Regions from separate parts of the Homo sapiens genome. Here region 2 is linked to region 1. Evidence: promoter capture Hi-C in 16 types of primary human blood cells and fetal thymus (Javierre and others, 2016). All regions are on one chromosome and are shown on one strand. The core of a region is centred on a gene start or on the middle of the fragment in contact, and the rest is flanking DNA. Distances in the headings are between cores, read along the strand shown. Region 1 holds the start of LINC00572 (long intergenic non-protein coding RNA 572). Region 2 has its middle 11 kb from the start of LINC00365.

Region 1 (2,700 bases), core at 127-2,626:
TCCTTAAAGTAATATAGGTTGAGCATCCCTAATCCAAAAATCTGAAATCCAAAATTATCCAGAATCTAAAACTTTTTTGGTTGCCAACATGCCACCACAAGTGGAAAATTCCGCACCTGGCCTTAGGTGACAGATGGCAGCTAAAACACAGTCAAAGCTTTGTTTCAGGCACAAACTCATTTAAAATATTGTATAAAATTACCTCCAGGCCATGTGCATAAGATGTATATGAAACATAAATGAATTTCGTGTTTGTTCAGACTTGGGTCCCACCACCAAGATACCTCATTATGTATATGCAAATATTCCAAAATCCAATATATATATATATATATATATATATATATATATATATATATATTCCAAATCTGATAAGAGATGCACACCCTGTAGAGCAAATCCAGATCTGTTCTGAGTTGGAAGTTCAGAAACTAATTCAGCAATGACTACACTTCTGGTGCTTGCAGTATCCCATAATTAGTTGGATGTCATAATAATCCCTATTCTCTTTTTTACAATGGCACTCTTACATCTTACAAAATACTTTAAAGGATTTAATGTTATTTTAAGAATTTTTGGATAAGTTCTTTAAGCCCACTGACAAAATTGAAACAATCCTGGGGGCTTGTGAAATCTGGGTTGGAGATTGTAGAACTTTGTTTTTAGAAGTATCATCTTTCCCTGAATCTTTCATTACCTACCTGATTTATTCAACTCTAATTTTGCAATAAAATGGAATTCTTTTTCTCTCAAATTTGTTTCCTTAAATCAGAATACCCAATCTAATTCCCATCTGTAGATCTGCAGCTTGTGGAATCATTTCATGTCATTCTTTTTAAATTGGCCAACAGCATCCATTTAACAAGCTATTTCCCATAGCAAAGATATCCTTAGTTATGATTTTGGATTTAAGCTGCACTAAAATATAAGGAAATATTGAAACCTTTGAAGAAAGCACTAACTTTACTTCCTTCTTCCAGATCTAGGGATCCCTGGTTACTCCTGAATTACTCCCATCATCCAAAGCTGCTCTCTTCTGCTTATATATAATTTGAGGGAAGCACAATTCTAAGAAGTTACGAACCACCCCTAAGTTATGACTTTTCTAAACATTCCAAGTATTATGATGACTTTCAGACTGGAGATTTGTGCTATCTGCCCAGTCAAAGTCAGCCAGCCATGGTGCATTCAGAACATGTGTTGTCAACAAAAACTGGCATCATAGAAGTGGCTAAAGGTGTACCTCACAGGCCTGGCATCAGGTTCATCAGAGGCACTGCACGTTGAGAAACAGTGGGGTAAAGTGACATCACCAAGGTGAACAGGTGAAATTCAGCTCCACCTTCAAAAGTTATTCTTAGGGAAGAAAATCATCTCTTCTCTCTTCCTCCTTCGGCTCCTGTTGGCCGGTGCCTTCCTGAACCTGAAGAATATCTTTGCTCTTTCCAACTCCCACATTCAAAACAGAGTCTTACAACTCAGCCACATTTTCTGCTGAGCCAGCCAGTGGGAACAAACACCAAGGTCTGTGGCAACCAAAGGTGTATGTGTGTGTGTGTGAGTGTGTGTGTGAGAGAGTGTGTGTGAGAGAGAATGTGAGTACATATTTATTTGTGTTTGTGTGTAGTGTGAGTGGGTGTATGTGTCTGAGTGTTTGCATGTGCGTGAGAGTGTCTATGTGTGTGTTGATATGTGCATTTGTGTGTTGTGAGTGTATGGTTGTGTTTGTGTCTGTGTGTGTGGTATGAGTGTGTGCATGTGTATCTCTGCATGTGTGTTTTTGTGGGGTTTGTGTGTATGCATTAATGTGTGTGGGGGCGGTATGTGTGTGTTTCTGTGTGTGTGTGTGTATTGCTTTTCTTCTAGTCTCCTCCTCCACGCCATCAGCCCACGCAATCCACACCTCATAAAACAGAACCCACATCTCCATCCTACTACAAGGAACTGGAGAAAAAAGAAAAAAAAACAAGCAACAAACCCTCCTGCCAGTCAGAGCCCAAGGAGAAAACTGGATGTAGATTTCAATCCACCCTCCCAGGTCTGCAGGTGTGAGAGAAGGTCACCTTTCTTGAATATCATGACAGTTTTCAGTGTGTGTGACTCATCTATGTTATTCCAGTTCTCCTTCATTAGGGGGATAAAATGCTTTTCTATATTTAATGAATGCCAGTGATTCAGGAGTTTGAGAGAGGTGGGCCCTAATTAGTCAAGCAGGGTTTCCATTACACAGAAAGCTTGAAAGGAAGGATTTTGGCTATTCCTGTGCCAGCAGCCAGAAGCCCAAGCCACACCAGAATAGGGAGGCGTCGTTTTGTTGTCAGTCACCAAGAGAACCAGAGAAAGAGTTGTGAAACCAGGCTAAGGCCCTGGCACTGGCTTCCTTGTCTGTAAAATGTGAGTGCTAGACTGGAGTTCTGGATCTCTGCCAGCTCACAGATGATATGACTCTCTAAAGTATTTGGTCAATATTAGGCAGTCCCCACTGGAAAGCTGGCTTAATAGACAACTTGCAGGCTTAGTCCTGAGAAAGCCTCATGACGTTACTAAGGAATATAGTAGAGAATCCAAAGAGGAGAGGGAGAACTCTACCTACTTTGGTGGAATAAATAGGGTTTTTTAATGAGAGAAGAGTAAGCCCTAGCCCAAATTGTGTAGCAGCCACGGTTCACGTCCAGCTCCTGCATAATCCTTTTTCCCTAT
Region 2 (2,700 bases), core at 190-2,689, 170 kb before region 1:
ATCGCGCCACGGCACTCCAGCCTGGGTGACAGAGCGAGACTCCGTCTCAAAAAAAAAAAAAAAAAAAAAAAAAAAAAAAAAAAAAAAGAATCCATTAATAGCCTAATTGAATGTGATTCAATAAAATATGCCTGACCAAAGAAAGTACACTCTCTGATACTAACATTTCCTGTTAGCGCCCGTGATTACTCTGGATTTGCTGAAACGAGAGCCGGGAGACAGTTCTTCAGAGATCATTACTTTGCCCACACCATCGAGACAGATCTGTCCGGGAGTGTGAGCTCATTATGTGTCTGTCTTGCCCTAATAGATGGCACAATCCTTTAGGGAAGGCCGGGGAGGGATTTACTCACCTTCTTAATCCCCATCCCAGTAGTGCCTGGCACACAGTGGAGGCTCCATACAAGCTTGAGACGTGAGCATGGGATAGAAAATTGCATCTGCTTCTGAGAATGTGAAAGGGGCTGTCTGAAAACTGACCCTACATTATTAGTTCGGGTACTAATGGTAGCGGCCACAGTAGACAAACCTTCAAGTCTCAGGTTTAGATCTCACTCTCAAAGCCTGATGTGGGTTCGGTGGCTCTCTGCTTTCTTGCAGCTACTCCTCTGTAGAGGATGAGAGAGATGGAGGCCTCCAGGACAGGGAAAGAAAGAGATGGAGAAGCCACACTAGCTCTTAATGACCTCAGCCTGGGTGGAAGCCCGAAGCTGCTGCTCAGATTTCTTTGGCCACACTAGTCATGCAGCCCCAACCTAATGTCGGGGGAGGAGGGAGACAGGACAAGAGGTGGAGGAGTGTAGGTGAGTGTTGTCTCTGGCACTGTTATTCTGAACAGCAACTGGCCAGATGAGTGCATTTGTGCAGGTGTAAGGATGTTCACAATGGAAATCTCTTTAAAAGGAGCTTTTTTAAAAAATCAGAGTTTTCATCCAGAAGAGAAAAGTGAAAGATGGTTTGCTTTCGAAATGCCAGAAGTCTCTTGAGAAAACTGGGCCTGGGGTGTCTGGGCAGAGGCTAAGGGTTCCCAATGAGGGGATTGTTGGAGGTTGGGAGGAGTTGCCTGGTGGTGACCTTGCTTGGCAGTGAGGGACGGCTTCCAGTTCGGAATGTTAGGCTACACTTCCACACCTTCTCAGCACTCAGGCCGAGGATCCTGGATGCATTTCCAATTCCAATGTCTTTTGAAATCTGTCTTTTCTCTCTGAAAGAAATGACTGTTATTGATTAGTAAAAGCTTGCTGTTTTCGCTTAAGGCTCTCAGTCATTTCTAATTATGGCTCCAACCTGGATGTCTTTTTAAAACTCACTTCTTCAGGAGGGGACGTTGGTCTGGACAGCAGCACGGGGTCTGGGTCTTGCTGCACGAGCTCAGCACCAAATTTATCACTGGTTTGCTTCTCCAGCCCCACTGAGCAAGGCATCTGTGATCCTTGAGTCTAAAAGTGATAGCAGTGCCCTGTTTCACAATTTTGTCACAAGGCTAAGACTCATACAACTGGAAGTGATGACAATTTCTGCTATTTAAGTGCCTGTTTCATGGATAGCCCAATGCTAATGATTTATATAAGTTATTTCTAAACCTTACAAAGTCAGGATTATGATCACACCTACTTTACATGTAAGAAAAATGGAAGCTTTGGGAGGTTAAAGATATAGGCCAGGCGCGGTGGCTCACACCTGTAGTCCTAGCACTTTGGGAGGCTGAGGCGGGCAGATAACCTGAGGTCAGGAGTTCAGCCACAGGTAACATGGTGAAACCTCATTGCTACTAAAAATACAAAAAATTGGCTGGGTGTGGTGGTGCGCTCCTGTAATCCCAGCTACTCAGGAGGCTGAGGCAGGAGAATCGCTTGAACCCAGGAGGCTGAGGTTGCAGTGAGCCGAGATCGTGCCATTGCACTCAAGCTTGGACAATCAGAAAGAAACTCCATCTCAGAAAAAAAAAAAAAAAAGAAGTTGTAACTAGTTCAAAGTTACAGCAAATGATGGAGTCAGTTTCAAATTCGCCGGATACGAATTTGGTTATATGACTGTTAACTTTATAGTCATATACTCATATTTATGTTATATGACTGTTACTTTATAGTGAAGGAATGACTGTTACTTTATGGTCATATACTCATATTTATGTTATATGACTGTTACTTTATAGTGAAGAAAGGGGCTTCAGGGACACTGTGGGACCCTCCCAAAGTGACCCAGTTTATTATTGATAAAACAACAACCAAGCCTGGGGCTCATGAATGTCAGTCCAGTGTTCACCTACGGCCCCATGTTACCCAATGCACATTTATGCATGATTCCCTTATCATTAGACAAGAGTAGATTTATGTTCACAGGAGGAAGTCAGGAGCCCTTGGGGGGCAAGTGGGCACTTATCCAGTAGCCCGTGAGTACCTTGACCCCTTTGCAGGGAGGCCCAATCCTCACCTGTAAATAGCCTCATTGGCTGGAGCCTTGGGACTTGGAAGGCACCTGTGATATTCTGAAATATATGTTTGGTCTTCATCTCCCATTTTCTGAAATATAATTGCTAAAAACCTTAGAATCTCTGGAGTGGTAAGAGTGTATTTTTGTATGCTAGTGAGATGACTGGTGGCTGGGGTCCCCAGGTAGCCTCAGGATGGGGCTGATCACTAGAAAGAGCAAGGCAGGATTAGACGGTTGGGGCTCTCAGCCATGCCCTCCATCAATGGG

Evidence for each region. The method cuts DNA at HindIII sites, captures the fragments that hold promoters and counts their contacts. A CHiCAGO score of 5 or more calls a contact.
Region 2: a fragment that was not itself captured here is called in contact with the fragment with the promoter of LINC00572 in region 1 in 5 of 17 cell types (non-activated CD4 T cells, total CD8 T cells, total CD4 T cells and 2 more); the score reaches 6.0 in non-activated CD4 T cells.

Annotation. Positions count from the first base shown.
Region 1 is chr13:29,925,327-29,928,026 of GRCh38, reverse strand. It overlaps LINC00572 (long intergenic non-protein coding RNA 572), which reads left to right and starts at 1,376. Exons shown (of 2, transcript NR_047501.1): 1 at 1,376-1,524. The HindIII fragment of the contact is 2,077 bases long and covers 160-2,236 here.
Region 2 is chr13:30,096,675-30,099,374 of GRCh38, reverse strand. No RefSeq gene overlaps it. Among named protein-coding and RNA genes, the nearest start is that of LINC00365, 11 kb to the left of the region's middle. The HindIII fragment of the contact is 400 bases long and covers 1,240-1,639 here.